Regions from separate parts of the Homo sapiens genome. Here regions 1 and 2 are each linked to region 3. Evidence: promoter capture Hi-C in 16 types of primary human blood cells and fetal thymus (Javierre and others, 2016). All regions are on one chromosome and are shown on one strand. Each heading gives the region's core, a stretch centred on a gene start or on the middle of the fragment in contact. The rest is flanking DNA. Distances are from core to core; before and after follow the strand shown.

What was found. The method cuts DNA at HindIII sites, captures the fragments that hold promoters and counts their contacts. A CHiCAGO score of 5 or more calls a contact.
Region 1: a contact is called between the fragment with the promoter of GANAB here and a fragment that was not itself captured in region 3, in 2 of 17 cell types (activated CD4 T cells and non-activated CD4 T cells). The highest score is 5.8, in activated CD4 T cells.
Region 2: a contact is called between the fragment with the promoter of BSCL2 here and a fragment that was not itself captured in region 3, in 2 of 17 cell types (activated CD4 T cells and naive B cells). The highest score is 6.9, in activated CD4 T cells.

The regions. Positions count from the first base shown.
Region 1 is chr11:62,644,730-62,647,933 of GRCh38, reverse strand. GANAB (glucosidase II alpha subunit) reads left to right here and starts at 1,321. Exons shown (of 24, transcript NM_198334.3): 1 at 1,321-1,372. The coding sequence starts at 1,335. INTS5 (integrator complex subunit 5) reads left to right here. Exons shown (of 2, transcript NM_030628.2): 2 at 1-1,086. The coding sequence ends at 914. RefSeq lists a silencer at 1,150-1,229 and enhancers at 1,840-1,999, 2,315-3,122. The HindIII fragment of the contact is 15,573 bases long and covers 1-3,204 here.
Region 2 is chr11:62,706,174-62,709,420 of GRCh38, reverse strand. BSCL2 (BSCL2 lipid droplet biogenesis associated, seipin) reads left to right here and starts at 1,997. Exons shown (of 11, transcript NM_001122955.4): 1 at 1,997-2,312. The coding sequence starts at 2,226. It overlaps GNG3 (G protein subunit gamma 3), which reads right to left and starts at 1,745. Exons shown (of 3, transcript NM_012202.5): 1 at 1,506-1,745; 2 at 1,027-1,126; 3 at 220-743. The coding sequence starts at 1,125. The coding sequence ends at 615. It overlaps HNRNPUL2-BSCL2 (HNRNPUL2-BSCL2 readthrough (NMD candidate)), which reads left to right. Exons shown (of 24, transcript NR_037946.1): 14 at 2,097-2,312. RefSeq lists enhancers at 94-1,293, 2,613-3,247 and a silencer at 2,954-3,247. The HindIII fragment of the contact is 17,480 bases long and covers 1-3,247 here.
Region 3 is chr11:62,836,029-62,839,103 of GRCh38, reverse strand. It overlaps WDR74 (WD repeat domain 74), which reads left to right. Exons shown (of 11, transcript NM_001369450.1): 4 at 3,068-3,075. Among named protein-coding and RNA genes, the nearest start is that of WDR74, 2.0 kb to the left of the region's middle. RefSeq lists an enhancer at 1-90. The HindIII fragment of the contact is 4,232 bases long and covers 1-3,075 here.

The DNA of each region.
Region 1 (3,204 bases), core at 72-2,571, 190 kb after region 3:
TCTCAGTTGTTTCAGCTTCTTTGGCTTCTGCCTCCCTGTTGGACACTAACCGGAGGCACACTGCAGCTGTGCCAGGTCCTGGAGGGATTTGGTCAGTTTTCCATGCTGGAGTCATCGGCCGTGGCTTAAAGCCACCCAAGTTTGTCCAGTCACGAAATCAGCAGGAAGTGATCTATAACACCCAGAGCCTCCTCAGCCTCCTGGTTCACTGCTGCAGTGCCCCAGGGGGCACTGAATGTGGGGAATGCTGGGGGGCACCCATCTTGAGTCCAGAGGCAGCCAAAGCAGTGGCAGTGACCTTGGTGGAGAGTGTGTGTCCCGATGCAGCTGGTGCAGAGCTGGCCTGGCCCCCCGAGGAACACGCCCGGGCCACCGTGGAGCGGGATCTCCGCATTGGCCGGCGCTTCCGCGAACAGCCCCTGCTCTTTGAGCTGTTAAAGCTGGTAGCAGCTGCACCCCCAGCCCTGTGCTACTGTTCCGTGCTGCTTCGGGGGCTGCTGGCCGCCCTCTTGGGCCATTGGGAAGCCTCTCGCCACCCTGACACGACCCACTCCCCCTGGCACCTGGAGGCATCCTGCACCTTAGTGGCTGTCATGGCTGAGGGAAGCCTCCTGCCTCCGGCCCTGGGTAATATGCATGAAGTATTTAGCCAACTGGCACCTTTCGAGGTGCGTCTGCTGCTGCTCAGTGTCTGGGGTTTTCTCCGGGAGCATGGGCCCTTGCCTCAGAAGTTCATCTTCCAATCAGAGCGGGGTCGCTTCATTCGGGACTTCTCCAGGGAGGGTGGAGGTGAGGGTGGACCCCATCTGGCTGTGCTGCACAGTGTCCTCCACCGCAACATCGACCGCCTAGGTCTTTTCTCTGGCCGTTTCCAGGCACCTTCACCGTCCACTCTCCTTCGACAGGGGACGTAGCCTTTTCTTGCTCTGGAAGCCCAGGGAGGTTGAGCAGTGAGAGAGGGAAGGGACTAACGTGCTCCGGAAGGGTGGAGGTTTCTCTTCTAAGTCCTTGGTCTAAAGAGCGCTGTCACTTTTTTCTCTCCCACTTTTTTTTTTCTAAATAAAATTTGCCAACTTGAGAAAACCAGTCCAGTGCTTCTGTCATGCTGAGAGCGTGCAAAGTCTGACAGCGCCTGGCTCTGGACGTTCCCGCCCCTGGCCTGAAGCCCCGCCCCCTGCGATAATTTGGAGTGCGCACTCTACCAATGAGACAGCTGCCCGGCGGCGCTCAGGTCGAACCAATCATAAGGCCGGAAGGGGCGGGAACTAGGATACGTGGCTGAGCGCGCGCGATGGGGCGGGAGGTTTGGGGTCAAGGAGCAAACTCTGCACAAGATGGCGGCGGTAGCGGCAGTGGCGGCGCGTAGGAGGCGGTGAGGAGCCCGGAATCTGGGGGCGCGCCCGGGACGCCCCCAGATCCCCCAAGTCCCATTCCACTCCTTCCTGTGTGTCTCTTGACACTCTGCCACCCCCGGCCTCGTGAGGAACCTTTGTTCCTCTGGAGGCGGCCTCAGACGCCTCCGGTCTCCCCGTGGTAGATCCGAGCGACGCTGGGGGCCTTGCCTGTGGGGCTCCGGGCTCCCGCCCGGCGGTTTAGTAAAGCCACAGCTGTGCGTCTTTCTTGGTCTTGGCCGCTCTCAGCCGCCGCCCTCCTTTGGCTGCTTGCGGCGGTCAACGTCGCCGCCCCCTTCCTGCAGTGCGCGGGGTCGTCGGGGCGGGGGAAAAGATGCGGCCTGGCCTCGGGGAATGCAGCCTGCGGCCCCGCGGCCCCTCGGCTGAGCTGGAAGCACCGGGCCAGCAGTTAAGCCTGTACTACCCTTCTGGCTCTACCCTGTAGAGCTCCGAATCCTCCTCTGCCCTTGTCTTCACGTGAGCACCAGCTCTGGCTTAGTTCAGTGTCCACGGTCGCTGGGCACGGCCCAGGGTCCAGTAAGCTCACGGCGTGGATGGTGTTGCTCAAACACAACATGTAATCGAATGGCTTGGTCCACGCTCTCGGGTTTATATTACTGGGGAAAAAAAAAGATTCGAAACATATCACCAGTGCCACAAATGTTTACTAGGACCTAACGGATATACTGGGGTGGGGTAGGCGTGTACTCTCCAAAGCGATGAAGAAAGCGTGGATCATAAACTCAGTTCCCTCGGAGCCTGTGATCTGAAACAATAAATGCGTGCAACTTGCCCTGCAGCTTATTCCTGACTTTGGCCTATGAACACCTCTCTTGGGGTGGTCAAGGCCGCCGTGAATTCCTTAGGGCCCTCCAACAGGTCATATCTGAAAGATGCTTTAGGAATCCTATCTCCATTGGCATCTTTCCGAACCAATTTTACAGACTGTGCAAATAGGGCCCCAGAGGGTATTTAACTCACTGTACGTCTTTTTTTTTTTTTTTTGAGAGACAGAGTCTCGCTCTGTTGCCCAGGCTGGAGTGCAGTGGCGAGATCTCGGCTCACTGCAAGCTCCGCCTCCTGGGTTCACGCCATTCTCCTGCCTCAGCCTCCCGAGTAGCTGGGACTACAGGCACCCGCCACCACGCCTGGCTATTTTTTTGTATTTTTAGTAGAGACGGGGTTTCACTATGTTGGTGAGGATGATCTCGATCTCTTGACCTCGTGATCCACCCGCCTCGGCCTCCCAAAGTGCTGGGATTACAGGCGTGAGCCACCGCGCCCGGCCTCAACTCACTGTACTTCTATTTACTGCTGCTTTTGGCAGGTGGACGTGGGTCAGTGGCCAAGAGTGCCTGTTGCAGTCACTCAGGTCACTCACTGCAGGACCTGTGCCGCATGCCTTGCTATGGAGTTTTGTGGTAGCATTTATTCTGCTTGGCCTATTAAACCACAGTGCCTAGTGTTTTCTTCATTTTTCTGTCTGGCCTGCTGTGGAACAGTTGTTTCGTACATTCCTCTGGAGCTGGAGGAGAGTCCTGTGATGAGATCATAGTACACTCTGTGATCTCATTTCTGGTAATTTTCTTTTAGCTTTCAAGCAGATGCTGAAGCTAATGCTAGATAACTAGATACAATGTGTATAATAGACCCTGTCTTTAGTTACCTTATTATAGGTTGTCAAATTTTATTTATTTATTTATTTGTTTGTTTACTTATTGAAACAGGGTCTCGCTCTGTTGCCTAGGATGGAGTGCAGGGGTGCAATCTCGGCTTACTCCAGCTTCCACCTCCCGAGTTCAAGCGATTCTCC
Region 2 (3,247 bases), core at 748-3,247, 130 kb after region 3:
CGTTTGTGTGTGTGTGTTTGCTCTTCGCAGCCTCTTGAGCGTCTTTTGTACTTAATTCTTACACTGTGGACGCTCTCTCGCGCCCGCCATCCCCCGACCCCTCTGATCTCCGATCCTTGACGATGTCTAGCCTGCATTGATTGGCCCTTTTCCCTGGGTATGGCAGATCTATTGCTTGATGATCCTCTCCCCCCAAGAATTCTAACACAGGAGCTGTCCTGAGGCTCTGGATGACTTTATTCTTCAAATGGCTTTACCCTCCCAGTAGCTCCAGGTGAGACTGAGAGCAAGAACCTGGCCCATCCCTCTCCATTGTCTGAGCAGGTCACCGAGGGAAGCGGGCAGGACGCGCTGGCAGAGTCTGACGGGGCCCTGCTGTGGGTGGAGCAAAGGGTGCCTCATATCTCTGGGGTGCTTGGGGTCGGCCACAAAGGTGGTAGGAAATGGGGTCGACAGATAGGTGAGGGTGGGCCTTGTGCTTCAGATAACCTCACATGGTCAGGCAAGGGTTAGGGATGGGATGCAAGGAGCCTAAGGGGCTCACAACAATTACTGACCTAAGGAAGGGCCCAGGAGAGGGAAAAGGGAGGAGTTGTGAGAAGGGACAGGGGAGCTCAGAGGAGAGCACAGAAGAACTTCTTCTCCCGGAAGGGGTTCTCCGAAGTGGGCACAGGGGTGATGAGGGGATCCTCACAGGCGTGGGCATCACAGTAAGTCATCAGGTCTGCTGCTGCCTTGGACACCTGGGACACAGCCAGGAAGGGTATTGTTAGCCAGGACCTCTGAAGGGGACTGCAGCCTCCCTCCCCAAATGGGTTCTCTTTTGCCATCTCCAGGGCTCCTTACGACTTGTCTTCTCCCTCATCCCCCCCAGAGGCCTGGGGACAGCTCTCTCTACAGAGCCCCAGACTCCTCCCCTGACCTCAGGGAGTGAAGGAAAGAACGCATCTCTTATCTTGAGCTTTGGGAACCTGCAGCACAGCACAGCCTGGCCAACTAATGGGAGCCAGCCAGGGTCCCACCTACCTTTATCCGACACAAGCTGGCTTCAATCTTAAGCTGTTCCACCATCTTGCGTGCTTGCCCAATACTCATAGTGCTGTTCACCGGGGTCTCACCTTTCATCCTGGAAAAAAGAGGGACCTCTCAGAGCACAGTCTCAGCTGGAGGCCCCCCTCCATGCTCACTCCACACCAACCTTTACAAGGCTGTGGTCATACCCCAATATTTTGTTCCCCTCCTATCCTCCTCCTCCTCCTCCAGTGGACTGTCTCATCCCTGTATTCCTCATGGAAAAAAATAGGGTGGGATGAGGTGCTCCCCAAACTCCCTCATGGCCTGGGCCACAGATCATTAAACCTTACACAAATGATTTAAGGCTTTTCAGCCCTTCAAACCATGTGTGTTCCCAGCTCTGAAGACCTCAACCAACCCTGATGAGGAGGGCACATCACCCCTGTCTGCTCCAGTGAGCCCCAACAGGAGAAAAACAGGCCATTACTTACCTGAAGCCACAAGCGGCAGTAGCAGCCCTGGGTGTAGGGTCAGTGGAGGGTACCAAAACCTTCTGCCTGAAATGGGTGCCCCACCCAGTAGGGAGTTGCAGCTGAAAGTATCTGATGCAGAAGCAGTGACTATACGAAAGGAGGCCCCTGGGGAGGGCCAGGCCAGAGGTCTGGTCTCAGTTTCTGCAGCTCAAGCACTGTCTGGATGGCTGGTACCTGAAGGATGAAGGATGCTAGAAGGAGCTGCTCAGATCCTGGAGCATACCAACTGCCTGGCCAGTGGGGGAGCCTAGCTGCCTGCATCCCTGCGCACACCCCCACTGTCGCTAGTTCACTGCCTGCCCCTCCCCCATTGCAGGCATCCTGACTCTGGGCTAGAGACCTCCCCAACAGAGCTGAGGCCAAGGCCGACTCCCCCTCTCAAATGGCGTGGTCTGGGCCTATGACGGCCCCTGCAGTGGAGTCTGTACTGGCTGCGGGGGACCCTGCTCATTTGAAAATCTGACATCAGCTGGGCAGTCGCCCCCCTCCTCCTTTCCTCCCTCTACTCTGACACAGCACTTAGCACCTGAATCTTCGTTTCTCTCCCAGGGACCCTCCATTTTCCATATCCAGGAAAATGTGATGCGCCACAGGTATCAGCGTCTGGATCGCCACTTCACGTTTTAGCCACAAGTGACTCAGTGGAAGATCCAGAGTCAACAGAGGCTCGTCAGGAAGATGTCTACAGAAAAGGTAGACCAAAAGGAGGAAGCTGGGGAAAAAGAGGTGTGCGGAGACCAGATCAAAGGACCGGACAAAGAGGAGGTAGGGGCCCTTGTGGGGACAGTCAGCAGAAATATACTGGAAATAGGTGGGCTGGCGTGAAGGGGGCGGGGGGATGGATTGGTTTTAAGAATTTCATTCATTTTGAATAGATTACTTCCCACGCCCGCAGCAGTGTGCAAAGATGTACACAACACTGGCCTTGCCTCTGAAGGACTTTATCTGGGGTGATTAGACGTCTACAAAATAGAAGACTGCCAAAAGCTAGTCTAGATAATGTGCTGTGGGGACTCTGAGGGAGAGTGTATCCAGTTAGGGTCAGAGGAGGTCCACAATGCTACCACGCTGGGAACAGGGCACTAATCTGCCTGCGCAACAACGCAAGAGGCCCAGGTTGCCGCAAACTGCAACATGCTCTAGGCGAATGCCCCCGCCTTAGATGCCTACAGGTCCTAGGAGCTGTGGGCGATAAAAATCAGCGCCAGCTGGATGACCGCCTCACTCGGCCGCTTCGCGGGTGAAATGGCCTGTGGTGAAGGTGTGCACGGAGGGCTGTGATTGCAGTCTCAAGGGAGAGCCGAGCGGAGGCTGCAGTCAGCGCATCCCCTGGGGCACATCTTGGGGCCTGCAGGGAGGCAGGCGTCTTTCCCCTTTGGTCACGGTAACCGGAGGGAAACCTGCCGCAGAGAGAGCCAGTGGCGAGCGCAAGGAGACAGCGACCTCGCAGCTCGGGAAGGCTCCGCCCCGTCCCGCCCCGCCCCGCCGTGCTGGACCCCGCCCTGGGCTGAAGCCCCGCCTCCCACGGCTACAAAAGCGGCCGGCGGAGAGGGGCGGGACTTCCCCGGGAGCCGGAAGTCCCGTCTCACGGTTGCCCTGGCAGCGCGCGAGGCTGGTGAGTCGGCAGCCCTGTGGCAGCCGGCGGGCTGGTTTCCATGGTTGCACGATTAGGTAGGGGCTCCGGGCGCTTTGCCCACCCC
Region 3 (3,075 bases), core at 283-2,782:
TCCCCTCGCTAAACTCAGGGCCGAAGGGAGAGCGTTGATGCTCCCTGAGGATACTGGAATGATGGCGACAGGCAAACTCTTAGTGACACGGCTTTGAATGGGTGACAGGGACCTGGGTTTCTGCCTTATGTAGTTCATACCTGTAACACACATTTATTGAACACCTACTGAATTCCAGGCACTGGGAGAAGTACAGGGGCTGCCGGTAAAATTTCTGCCTTCAAAAAGTTCTCATCCTCTAAGGTTTTTCACCTGACTCCATTATAATCCTCTAAGTAACCATGGGCAAGTCATTTAATAGTTTTGTGTGTGTGTGTGTTTGTTTTTTGTTTTTTTTTTTTTTGGAGACGGAGTTTTCGCTCTTGTTGCCCAGGCTGGAGTGCAGTGGCGCGATCTCGGCTCACTGCAACCTCCGCCTCCCGGGTTCAAGCGATACTCCTGCCTCAGCCTCCCAAGTACCTGGGATTACAGGCGTCTGCCACCACGCGCGGCTATTTTTGTATCTTTAGTAGAGACGGGGTTTCACCGTATTGGCTAGGCTGGTCTCGAACTCCTGACCTCAGGTGATCCACCTGCCTCGGACTCCCAAAGTGCTGGGATTACAGGCGTGAGCCACTGTGCCTGCTTGTCATTTAATAGTTTTAAGCAAGGCTGGGTGTGGTGGCTCATGCCTGTCATCCCAGCACTTTGGAAGGCCGAGATAGGTGGATCACTTGAGGTCAGGAGTTCAAGACCAGCCTGGCCAGCACGGTAAAACCCCTTCTCTACTAAAAAAATACAAAAATTATCCGGGTGTGGTGGCTCATGCCTGTAATCCCAGCTACTTGGGAGGCCGAGGCTGGAGAATCGCTTGAATCCGTCCCGCAGAGGTTGCAGTGAGCAGAGATCGCACCAGTGCACTCCAGTCTGTGAAACAGAGCAAGACTCCATCTCAAAAAAAACAACAAAAAAAGTTTTAAGCATGCATTCATTAATTCATTATTAATTCATTTATATTTTTTGAGACAGAGCCTCACTGTGTCACCTAGGCTTGAGTGCAGTGGTGCATTCATGGCTCACTACAGCCTCAACCTCCCGGGGTCAAACGATCCTCCCGCCTCAACCTCCTGAGTACCTGGGACCACAGGCAGGTGTCACCCTGCCCAGCTAAATTTTTAAGTTTTTTATAGAGATGGGGTCTCACTGTGTGCCCAGGCCAGTCTCAAACTCCTGGGCTCAACTTGAGCTCAACCACCAACAAGGTGATGTAGCTCTGAAAGCAAAGATTAGGAAGGTGCTAAGTGGTTGGATGACTGGCCTTGCTTTCTTCCAAAGATGATGAAAGAGGGCTGTGAAGCAGGCTGCATAGGTTTGGTGGTGGTAATTCTGACAGGTGAGGTCTGGAAAGCCTGTGGGGGGGACTGGATGTCTGAACTGGTTCTTGAGGGATGGGTAGAATTTTGACTGGTGGAGAAGGGGATAAGGGTATTCTAGAAAGAGGGTACTGCCTGGGAGAGGCCAAGGACTGGAGGCATGCTACAGGGTACATAAATAGGATAAATAGCATTTGATTTGGAAGTTGATAACAAGGAAGCGTTTTTTTTTTTTTGTTTTTTGTTTTTTTTTTATATACGGAGTCTCACTCTGTTGCCCAGGCTGGAGTGCAGTGGCACAGTCTCGGCTCACTGCAACTTCTGCCTCCCAGGCTCAAGCGATTCTCTTGCCTCAGCCTCCTGAGTAGCTGGGATTACAGGCATCCGCCACCACGCCCAGCTAAGTTTTTTTTGTATTTTTATTAGAGACAGGGTTTCACTATGTTGGCCAGGCTAGTCTGGAACTCCTGACCTCAGGCAATCCGCCCACCTCAGCCTCCCAAAATGCTGGGATTACAGGCGTGAACCACTGCACCCGGCCAAGGAAGCATTTTAATACAAGATGAACACTATATTAGGTTGGGATTAAATGTAAAGGGCTTTAAGTGCTAGGTTGAGAGATGTGCACTTTTATTGGTGTTGGTGAGTTATTCATTTATTGTTTTTGTTTTTCTGAGAGACGGAGTCTTGCTCTGTCACTGAGGCTGAAGTGCAGTGGCATGATCTCGGCTCACTGCAACCTCCACCTCCCTGGTTCAGGCGATTCTCCTGCCTCAACTTCCCAAGTAGCTAGGACTACAGGCATGTACCACCACACCCAGCTAATTTTTGTATTTTTTAGTAGAGACAAGATTTCACTATATGTTGGCCAGGCTGGTCTGGAACTCCTGACCTCAGGTGATCTGCCTGCCTTGGCCTCCCAAAGTGCTGGGATTATAGGCGTGAGCCACTGTGCCTGGCCAAGTTATCAGTTTTTGAATAGGAAGTACCATAGTCAGCACTGGGAGCCTGTAGGAGTATGGAGGATGGATTGGAGACAGCAACTGGGAGACTTTTGCCACAGGTCAGGCAAGTCGATACAGAGCCCGAACCCAGCTAGGGAGGGTTGGCAGGTGTGAGAAAGAACATAGGCGCAGGCTGTGCAGATCCTGGGGAGAGACTTGCTTGGACTTCTCGGGAGGGATATTTTAAGCAAGAGACTGACATTTAGTGCCTGAAACTCAGAGCAAGGAACCCAAGAAGTTGGTGTTTGACTTTGACCAAGCCCTAAATTCAGACCAGCCCTAGTAAGCAACTCAAGATTCAGACAGACCAGTACAGCCAGATGCTAGACATAGCTGTGAACAGCAAAAGCACTCTGGAATATCACAGAGTTGATTTCTAGCTGTGGTTGTAACATAGCTGAGTGGCAAATTAGTTTCTCAGCGCTTCTATTTCCTCACTTGGTAAACCCTCACCCTGTTGAGAAAGTTGAATTAACAGATTAGGAAGCTGGAAGCTGTCAAGCCCTGCCTAGAGCCCAGTGACCTAGAGGCTTCCTTCTAAACTGGACTGTTAGTAGGGAATCTGGTTGATATGAGTTTGGGGCCTAGAGAATACTTTTATACTTTTTTTTTTCTTTAAACATTAGTCAACTGTAGTAGTAAGGAGGAGAGAAAGATTAGAACAAGGAGTTTAAGCACTTAAAAAATCCCAACTCTATCCTTTCTCTGCAGCACCCTCA